Regions from separate parts of the Homo sapiens genome. Here all the other regions are linked to region 1. Evidence: promoter capture Hi-C in 16 types of primary human blood cells and fetal thymus (Javierre and others, 2016). All regions are on one chromosome and are shown on one strand. The core of a region is centred on a gene start or on the middle of the fragment in contact, and the rest is flanking DNA. Distances in the headings are between cores, read along the strand shown.

Region 1 (3,522 bases), core at 880-3,379:
AGAAGAGCTATATACTTTTAAACAACCTGATCTTGTGATACCTCACTCTCGCCATGACAACACCAAGGGAGGTGGTGTTAAACCATGAGAATCCGCCCCCACTATCCAATCACCTCCCACTGCACCCCACCTCCAACATTGGGAGTTACAATTGAACATGAGATTTGGGTGGGGACACAGATCCAAACCATATCAAACACTGTTAGCATCTCCATTTTTACAGATTAGGAAACTGTGACACCAAGAAGTTAAGAATTTGTCCAAGGCAACACATTTTGTAAGTGGTGGCACCAGACTCCCAGACAGGAATCTAGCCAAGGGCCTGAGAATCCACCATTAAGCTTTATTTTTAAACATAGTGGAAGGCTCTGCATGACAACACTGACAACATCACTTCAGTTCTGCTCATTACATTTAGAGGTGTGTGTCTAATGCAAGCTAATCTCTTCTTTGAAACACCTAGGAAACAAAATTTAGGTCGAGTTGTACCTCATGTAGCTCCAAGATACTTCATTAGACAAGCAGCCCCTTCTCCAAGGCTTTGCTGCTATCTACCAAAAAACTGTCATTACAAAAGGACAAATGGCTGGTTCTGAGTCTGAAGGCACTTGCAGAACTGTGCTGTCCACATAGCAATAAGCAGTGCTCCCAAGTTCAAGAATCCTTTCAGTTATTACAGTAAGACGTATTTTGATATCTGCATGCATATAAAATTAATGAAATGCTTTATAGAAATGAAAATCTATGGATAATATGTCATTTTCTATGTAAATACCATCAAATTGGACTTTTTATTACCAAGTCCTCATTTCACGATTATGACTGACAAATGTGTGGCAATGATCCTCTTAAACATTTATATCTCAAAATTCCAGGAATTTTAAGCTATTTCCCTCTGCCCAAGAATGGACTTGAAACACTGCAAGCAGTTTTGTCTTCCATGAACATGACACAACCCACAAAATATTTATTATAGAGCAGGAAACCTCTTTAGTCTGCATCTTTCAGCATTTTTCCTTTTCTTCTTTTATTTTTTCTTAAATTTTTGAATTTGTCGTCTTTTTCTTTCTTTAAAAATAGACCCTAGAAACAGATCCTTTTCTTCTTTTGTGGTGATTTGCCCTTCTAATTATCTAATTATGACTTAATTTAATCTAAATAAATCTAAATGTTTGGGTTTATTATCTGAATATTAAAGATGAGAAGATAGGATTTGAACTCAGACCTGTTTGACTTCCAAATTCTGGTTTGCCCTACTATCCCGTAATGCCTCCTAGATGCCGATTAGTCTAAGCGGCTGCTCCACAAGGCTTTTAAGCATTCAAGAACTCTACTGGACCATTTGAGGGTCTGTTCTGGAGACAGACAGTGCTTCAAGTGCTGAGGGCTCAGGACTTCACCCTCCCAGGAGGTACACACAGTACAAAGCCTAACAATTTGTCAGCACATAATCAATTGAAACCACACTCTAAAGTTAAATTAGTTCCTTCCAAATGGGGCAGACACGTGCTGACCAATTAAGAGGCCCAAAGACTTGGGAGTAGAGGATGAATAGGAATAAATTGAGAAAGTATGCAGGAAAATTATTGAAGGAAGAATGAAGACGAGAATTCTCAATGCTAAGTTCTGGAAGATGCTGGAAGAGAACTGAATCCAAAACAAATATATTTATGTCAACTCATCATTGCTTACATTTTCTAGTCTAACAGAGCAGAACCATGAAATTGTTTGAAAAGTGAAAAGCCTCTTCTAAGTATACAAGCAGGGAGAGCATTAGGAATCGTAAATTAAAAGGACACAGGTCCTAGCAGAGAAGCAATGAAGCATTGGGGAAGAGGGTTTCTGGGGAATTTATGTGAACTTACAGAACTGTGGTCTGCTGTGGTACCTGAGGAATGTGGTCCAGCATCAAGTGCATGCAGCGGACGGTGCTCTTAAAGCAAAGGCACCGGCTGGGGCAGGGCAACCCTGGCAGGCACCACCCGGCCAGGAGAAAGAGAGTGGTCCAGCAGAACAGTCTGGGCTCCATCGCTCCATTCGCTGCTGGCCACGCGAAGAAGCAGCCGGAGGGAGAGCAGCAGCTGCAGCTGCAGCAGCAACCGCAGTGGTGGTGATGGTGGCTGCTGGACTGAGCCAAGTTTGGGAGCCGTGGTGGAAAGCAGCTCCCAGGGAAAGGACACCCCTCTGACCAATCCAGGAGGAGGGATATCACATTACAGGGCTGAGGGCACAAGCAGCTCTAGGAAGCACTAGACTCCCAGAGGCGAGGACGAGAAGCTTTTCAATGCAAAAGCCTCTTTCTAAAACACCGTGTTTTAGGCAGCATAATGCAAACAAACTTTTCCAAAATTACTTCCACTGCGCATTTGATGAAAAACCCGACCTCTTAGCCTCCAGCTGTCCTCTTGAAGCCCAAGTTGATTAAGAATGTATTGAAACAATGCAGAACAGCTTTTCTTCTTTTTTATCTGGTAACATTACCAAACCCTAAAGGGCAGGCAGAGTTCTAATTCGTTCATCTAGGTGCACATATTCTTTCTTTATTCCAAACTATGCTCTTTAATAAAAATTGTTTCATTTCCTTCTATATATTCTGCTGCTGAAACCCAACACATTTCACTCATGTAAGACTCAAACGGGCTACTTCTGATTTCTTCTTTTAACGTTTAAATTTATATGCTTAAAACCATGAACTCACATACCTCCTTCAAGAGGATACAACTGATGGACAAACCTAAGTATGTATATGTAAAGTCAAACAGATGCAAGCTCCCTCAGGACACACTGGCAGCAGTGGTCTTGCTGGTTGCAGACTTTTCATCAGCAGTTTGAACTGGCCATCTTTCCCTGAAGTGAGCAGCACCTCGTTGAGGACGTGTCTGAAAACTTAATAAATATGAAAACATCTACTTTTTGGTCATTCTGTAAGCAGGTATTTTTAAACAGATTTTTGGCTTTATCTTTAAAGACTAACATTTTCAAACAAAAATGTTTTAAATCCATAAAAGTAATAGAAAACAAATTAAAACTTGCATGGTCAATCCCAGATGATCAGACTAGTAGACCAATCTTAAGAGGAAAATAAGTTCATCCTTGTCTCTGCAGAAATGTTTCAGTCCCTTTACATTCTACTGTAGGCGAATACTGCCCTCTTTTGGCAAAATGTTCATATCTAAATATGTGATTTTGGGGAGATTAAAATGTAAAAAGATCTAAAAAACAAAACTAATCTCCATGAACAAGAATGATTTATTTTAAACTTTACATTTGACATTGTTCACATGACTTTTATTGTCCAAGTATACCAATAAAGCCAAAAAACGAAATTTATTCCTTTAAATCCCAACAATCACTATGCTCTTGGCAGTGCCTGTGATTTGGAGGACATAGACAAGACCTGCAGGTTTGTGCCTTGTTTGCAGTTCAAAATATAAAATACAAAAAATATAAATAATATAAAATATATAAAATACAAAAATATAAAAATATCTTGCATTCATAAAGTAGACTTAAAAAGGGTAG
Region 2 (3,522 bases), core at 661-3,160, 290 kb after region 1:
ACTTCAGAGCTTCTGCTTCTCTGAATTCCATGATACTGTCTTTTTCCCAGGGCTTCTCCATTTCTTTTTTCTTTTCTTTTCTTTTTTCTTTTTATTCTTTTTTTGACAGAGTCTCACTCTGTTGCTAGGGCTGGAGTGCAGTGGTGTGATCTCGGCTCACTGCAACCTCTACCTCCCAGGTTCAAGCGATTCTTTTGCCTCAGCCTCCCAAGTAGCTGGGATTACAGGAACGTGCCACCATGCCTGGCTAATTTTTGTATTTTTAGTAGAGATGGCATTTCACTATGTTGGCCAAGCTGGTCTTGAACTCCTGACATTGTGATATGCCCACCTCAGCCTCCCAAAGTGCTGGGATTACAGGCATGAGCCACCGCACCTGGCCTAGGCCTTCTACATTTCTGACTGGTACTTCTTGGTCTTTTTTTTTGGCAGGTCTCTCTCACCCACTGTAAACATCACACTCCTCACCGCTCTTCTCTTTTGTTTACTCTTGTTTTAAGGCCACTGAGAGGACAAAGACTTCCTTTGAGTGAATTACACACAGTGGTCCCCCTTGCTTTTGTAGAGATGGGTCTTTCTCTCTTGCCCAGGTTGGACTCCAACTCCTGAGCTCCAGGGTTACTCCTGCCTCAGCCTCCCAAGTAGGGAGCCCCTTTTAAGTAGATGAATTAGAAGAAGGCAGAGCCATTTCCTCTTGTGCCACAGCCTAGACCAGGACGTAAGTTTGGTTAGGACTAGATTTTACCCTCATTCATGTCTTGCAGGTACCATTGAGCCAGAGCAAAACCTATGCAGTTGTACAGAGATCTCTCTCACTGGGTAGTATTCTTCATGCTCGTGGTTTTTTGTTTGTTGTTTGTTTTTTGTTTTTTTGGGTTCTTTTAATCCTTGCTGTTTTTGTTGTTTTGGGAAATGCAATTTTAAAAATGGGGGGCGGGGGGAGGGTAGGTGTAAAAATGTCTAGCTGCACCAGAGCTGTCCTACTTTAACACACCACCTCGTCATTGCACTCTGATAAATCAGATTGGCATGTATAATCAAAACAAGATTCACATCCAACTTTCATGTTTTCTGAGAACAGTAGGACACACAAAAGCACCTGGTAATATGTTTTTTCTGGATAAAATTACAGATTTTTTTTCTTCAGACTAGTTTTTCAAGAAGGTTTTTACTGATCAGGTTTTTCAACTCCTCTGTTTAATGATAAAAATTTTATAAAAATATATAGGTGTTAGGAAAATTCTTCGGGAACTATTGGAGGAAGGCAGGATAAACAATTTGCTATGTAAAGAAATGGCTGCTGATAAAGAATGTGTATATTTAATGATTAACATTTTTAAAAACCTGTTTGTAGTGTTTCTTTGTGTAATTTCTTTTCTATATTTACTTGCTAACGCACTTGCATGTCAAAGAAGAATTTGCAAGAAAAAAATGCAAACAGATATTAAATAACAATGAAAAAGATTATTGTTATTTCCACTAGAAGTCAGACAAGAGAAACATATGGAGACTTTTTTTTTCCTGAATCCTTCCTGAAATACAGTAAAGAAGAGCTGCTTGCAATATATATTAAACACAGTCACAGACTTTGCACTTCTTTCAGCTTTTCTATTGAGGGAAAAGAGAATGAGTCTATTACTGTAAATTATATTGTTGAAATTGTAGCCATTTATTACTCTGATTTTTTAAACAAAATGAATAGTTTATGAACTAGTAACAAAATTGTAGGCTTTTATAATGTTATATTATTTATCCAACTGTTGCTAAAGTGACTCTCCTAAGGATATATGAAATTCCTTATCTTTTATTAAAGGCAAACAATGTGAATCAGAGAAAAGAATTCATAATTCTATTATAATAAGTAGATGGCCACACACATCTTTGTAGTGAATATATATTAGACATTATAATATGTCTTCTTTAAAAGTTACATTAAACATTAAAACAGTAAAATCTGTACATGGTACTGGGAGTTTTATTTTTCCCCCTTTGCAACCACTAATGTTGAAAGATTGAAAAGCTGGGCTTGGGGTCAGGGAAACCTGGTCTTAATTCTGGGCCAGCATCTTGGTGGCCCTGTGATCTTAGGCTAGTCATCAACCTCCCTGGAGGGCACTGCTTGGGTTCATGATGGAAGAGGTCTTGTGGAACAAGGCCAGCAGCTGTGACTGCTTTGAGCAGTGACCAGAAATTTTGTGGGGCAGGAATTTAGAGTGAGTGGCGACCAGAAGAACGTACTCTTTCTGAGAACCCTAATATGTATTGGAGAAGGTGCTGGAATGCCCATAGGATATGTGGTAGAGACTTGAGTTAAATCACAGTTTCCTTCAATAGCCAAATGATTCAGAAGCTAGAACTTGAGGATGTTCCTAATACTTATAAATAATGCTGCCCAGAGCTATTGTTTTATCTTGTGACAGACTGTGCACTAAAACAGACTTTACAGGTTAAATGTCCATCTTATTAGCTCACTGTACCTCATTGCTGAGTGTCACTGATATGTCACAATTCCTTATTGTAGGCCCCAGGCTTCCTCCTGTCTTCTCTCACCATTCTTTTGTGACACCTGGTTTCTTTTCCTTTATTGCCTTTACTCTAGTCAGTTTGTACCACTCAATATTTACCTAAAAACTCCATCCTGCATGTTACATCTTTCCTCTTTTCATGCTGTTTCCTTCACTTAGAATGCCCATCTTTTATCCTGTTTTCCAAAATTCCATTTATTCTTCAAATTCCAGCTCAAATGCTATTGCTTCCACTGGGCTTTCTTTGATCTCATCAGAGTTATTCTTGTGTGCTCTCAGAGCATTATTTTGAGGATATTTTTTCCCTCTATCACACTGCTTGCTACATTCTGCTTTGCGATGTAGTGATGAGAAAGAAGGCTTCTTGGTGAATGGAATGCAGTTGAGGTGCATGCTGTGTGCACCACCCAGGTCTCTAACGGCCAGGGCGAAGCACTGAGCTCCCAGCTGCTGGGAGTATGGGTGACTGGCCCCTGGCAGCTGAGTCCCTTTCTAGAACCGAGCTGACTTGACCAGGTAGTATAACCTTTCCTGGGCTGCTAGTCTAAGGACTCATCTATCTGGGATGGCTGGGTTTACAAAGGGCAAGTCCCCTTGCCTCAAAGTGAAAGAGCTCTACAAGGCTGTCTCAGTTCCAGAGCTTCCCTTGACTCAGCCAAGATCTTGGTGGTGACTACATCACGGTTCAACTCTTCCTTCTGTCCTATCCTGCTTTCTTCTCACTCCTTAGGACTTGATCCCAAGGGCATTCCCCATTAAGTTTTCTCCATGCAAATTTCACCTCAGCATCTCTTTCCTGGGATCCCACCTTTTCCTCATTGGCAGCACTTGGCCCGTGTCTACGGAGGTAATGACACTGTGTTGATTCAGCAGAAGAGAGGTTCCTGGTCCTACCTTTTAAGCAAAGCCCAATATCAAAAATGTATCCAGTCTAGCTCTTGCTCTCATGACGTCTTTGAGTTGTTTAAAGGACTTACCTAGGAGACTGGGTCTTTTA
Region 3 (3,522 bases), core at 643-3,142, 260 kb after region 1:
TTCTTTTCTTCGGCTGGGTTTGGGTTTGGTTTGTTCTTGTTTCCCTAGTTCCTTGAGATGTGATCTTCAATTGTCTATTTGTGCTCTTTCAGACTTTTTGATGTAGGCATTTAATGCTATGAACTTTCCTCTTAGCACTGCTTTTGCTATATCCCAGAGGTTGTGATAAATTGTGTCATTGTTATCACTCAGTTCAAAGAATTTTTAAATTTCTATCTTGATTTCATTGTTGACCCAAATATCATCCAAGAGCAGATTATTTAATTTACATGTATTTATATAGTATCGAGAGTGCCTTTTCTAGTTAATTTCCAGTTTTATTCCATTGTGGTCTGAGAGAGTACTTGATACAATTTTGATTTTCTTAAATTTATTGAGACTTGTTTTGTGGCCTATCATATGGTCTATCTTAGGGAATGTTCCATGTGCTGATGAATAGAATGCATGTTGTTGGATAGAATGTTCTGTAAATATCTGATAAGTCCATTTGTTCTAGGGTATAGTTTAAGTCCATTGTTTCTTTGTTGACTTTCTGTCTTGATGACCTGTCTAGTGCTGTCAGTGGAGTATTGAAGTCTCCCACTATTATTGTGCTACTGTCTATCTCATTTCTTAGGTCTGCTAGTAATTATTTAATAAATTTGGGAGCTCTGGTGTTAGGTCCCTATATATTTAGAATCATGACACTTTCCTGTTGGAGTAAGACTTTTATCATTATATAATGTTCTCTTTGTCTTTTTAAACTGTTGTTGCATTAACATTTGTTTTGTCTGATATAAGAATAGCTACTCCTGCTTGCTTTTAGTTTATATTTACATGGAACATCTTTTTCCACCCCTTTACCTTAAGTTTATGTAAGTCCTTATGTGTTAGGTGAGTCTCTTGAAGATAGTAGATACTTGGTTGATGGACTTTTCAATTCATTCTGCCATTCTGTATCTTTTATATGGAGGATTTAGGCCATTTATATTCAGTGTTGGTATTGAGATGTGAGGTATGATTCTATTCATCATGCTAGTTGTTGCCTTAATACCTTGTGTTTTTTTAATCCTGTTATTGTTTTATAGACCCTATGAGAATTTTGCCTTAAGGAGGTTTATTTTGGTGTATTTTGAGGTTTTGTTTCAAGATTTGGAACTCCTTTTAGCATTTCTTATAGTGCTGGCTTGGTAGTGGCCAATTCTGCAGCATTTGTTTGTCTGAAAAAGACTTTATCTTTCCTTCATTTATGAAGCTTAGTTTTGCTGGATATAAAATTCTCAGCTGACAATTATTTTGTTTGAGGAGGCTAAAGATAGAACCCCAGACCCTAATTTCCTTTATAGGTTACCTGATACTTTTCTCTCACAGCTCCTAAAATTCTTTCCTTTGTCTTGACTTTAGTTAACCTGATAACTGTGTGCCTAGGTGACAATCTTTTTGCAATGAATTTCCCAGGTGTTCTTTGAGCTTCTTGTGTTTGGATGTACAAATCTCTAGCAAGGACAGGGAAGTTTTCCCCAATTATATCCTCAAGTAAGTTTTCCAGACTTTTAGATTTCTCTTCTTCCTCATGAACACCAATTATGCTTAGTTTTGGCCATTTAACATAATCCCAAATTTCTTGAAGGCTTTGCTCATTTTTAAAAAATTCTTTTTTCTTTGTCTTCGTTGGATTGGGTTAATTCAAAAACCTTGTCTTTGAGCTCTGAACTTCTTTATTATACTTGTTTGATTCTATTCATGAGACTTTCCAGTGCATTTTGTATTTCTCTAAGTGTGGCTTTCATTTCAAGAAGTTATGGTTGTTTTTTCTTTCATGTTATCTATTTATCTAGAGAATTTTTCATTCATATCATATCCTGTATTGTTTCATTCATATCCTGTATTGTTTCTGGCAATTCAGAGGTTTCTTCTTGGTTTGGATTCATTGCTGGGGAGCTCATGTGATTTTTTGGGGGTGTTATAGAACCTTCTTTTGTTGTATTACCAGAATTACTTTTCTGGTTCCTTCTCATTTTGGTAGACTATTTCAGTGGAAAGATCTGGAACTCAAAAGCTGCTGTTCAGATTCTTTTGTCCCATGGGGTGATCCCTTGATGTGGTGCTCTCACCCTTTTCCTAGGGATGGGGCTTCCTGAGAGCTGCAGTGATTGTTATTGCTCTTCTGGGTCTAGCCACCCAGTGGGGCTACCTTATCCTGTGCTGGTGCTGGGGAATGTCTGCAAAGAGTCCTGTGATGTTATCTGTCTTCAGGTCTTCCAGCCATGGGTACCAGCACCTGCTTTGATGGAGGTGGCAGGAGAGTGAAGTAGACTGTGTGACAGTCATTGGTTGTAGATGTGTTTAGTGTGCTGGCTTTCTCAGATGCTGGGTATTCTAGTAGTGAAGTTGATACATGGGTAGGCTCAGGACCTCTGGTTGCAGGCATTGGAATTAGCTATTGTTAACCCTATTTCTTGGGAGTAGAGTTATTCTGTCATGATTTGCTGTAACGGCCTGAGTTGGTGGCCTCCAGCCAGGAAGTGGCACTTTCAAGAGAGCACCAGCTGCAGTCGTAGAAGGGAGATATAAGCTTGCCCTAAGTTGGCCAGGATGAGTAAGGCCAGGGTAGGCAGTGGGCAGGGCCATAAAGTTCCCCAGGGTTTATGTCTTTTATGTTCAGCTGCAAGGGTGGGTAAAGAAAAGCCATCAGGTGGGAACAGGGTTAGGCAGGTCCGAGCTCAGACTCTCCTTGGGCAGGGCTTGCCACAGCCACTATGGGGGATGAAAGATTGTTCTCAGGCCAATGAGGTTATGTTCCAGAGGGGATTATGGCTGCCTCTGCTGTGCCATCTAGCTTGCCAGGGAAATGGGGGAAAGCCAGTAGTGATTGGCCCCACTCAGCTCCCATGCAGTTGGCGAGGCCGGTCTTCCTCCTGCAGTGCTCTGCCAGCAGTGACGAGTTTAGAACCAGGCAGCCAGTGCATGGGACTCAGACCTTGCCCTAGGCCATAAGCTTCGTTCCTGAGAAAGCAAGTGCAGCTTTCAGGCCTCATCCCTCCTCATCTGCCCACAATACCAGCAGTGGCTCCTGTGCTCATATCTGCAACAGTTCCCATTCAATCCCCAGATTCTGCTCAAGGAAATTTGTGCTCAGTCAAAATTATTACAAAATTCAGCTGGAAACTTCTTTTACCCCGTTCACCCTGTGACCCCTCCCTAATTCCACTGGCTGCCTTCCCCAAGGCCCCTGTGAGATATAGTCAGGGTTGTCTTCCCTGGGCCCAGGCTGGATACTGGGAGTGCCTACAAGGCTCTTCCTGCTGCTGCTTCTACTTTTATGTTTTGCATGGCTCCCTAAATCCGTTTCAGCTCCAGGTAAAGTTAAATCCTTCTCCTGGGATCTGGATTTTCAGGTTCTCCAGTGGGGATGTGTTTTCAGAGGTAGGTTTCCCCCCTCACACTTTGGGAACTCACAGTTTTTCACCTGTCTCATGGAATTTACAGCGACAGGCCACTCCTTTTAAAGGATTTGTGAATTCTTTTGGTTTTCTTGATATG

The links. The method cuts DNA at HindIII sites, captures the fragments that hold promoters and counts their contacts. A CHiCAGO score of 5 or more calls a contact.
Region 2: a fragment that was not itself captured here is called in contact with the fragment with the promoter of PXDNL in region 1 in 1 of 17 cell types (total CD4 T cells); the score reaches 5.4 in total CD4 T cells.
Region 3: a fragment that was not itself captured here is called in contact with the fragment with the promoter of PXDNL in region 1 in 1 of 17 cell types (activated CD4 T cells); the score reaches 5.4 in activated CD4 T cells.

What each region holds. Positions count from the first base shown.
Region 1 is chr8:51,807,316-51,810,837 of GRCh38, forward strand. It overlaps PXDNL (peroxidasin like), which reads right to left and starts at 2,130. Exons shown (of 23, transcript NM_144651.5): 1 at 1,866-2,130. The coding sequence starts at 2,029. RefSeq lists enhancers at 1,503-2,025, 2,026-2,547. The HindIII fragment of the contact is 1,936 bases long and covers 340-2,275 here.
Region 2 is chr8:52,093,650-52,097,171 of GRCh38, forward strand. No RefSeq gene overlaps it. Among named protein-coding and RNA genes, the nearest start is that of ST18-AS3, 99 kb to the right of the region's middle. The HindIII fragment of the contact is 4,858 bases long and covers 1-3,522 here.
Region 3 is chr8:52,067,601-52,071,122 of GRCh38, forward strand. No RefSeq gene overlaps it. Among named protein-coding and RNA genes, the nearest start is that of ST18-AS3, 120 kb to the right of the region's middle. The HindIII fragment of the contact is 1,320 bases long and covers 1,233-2,552 here.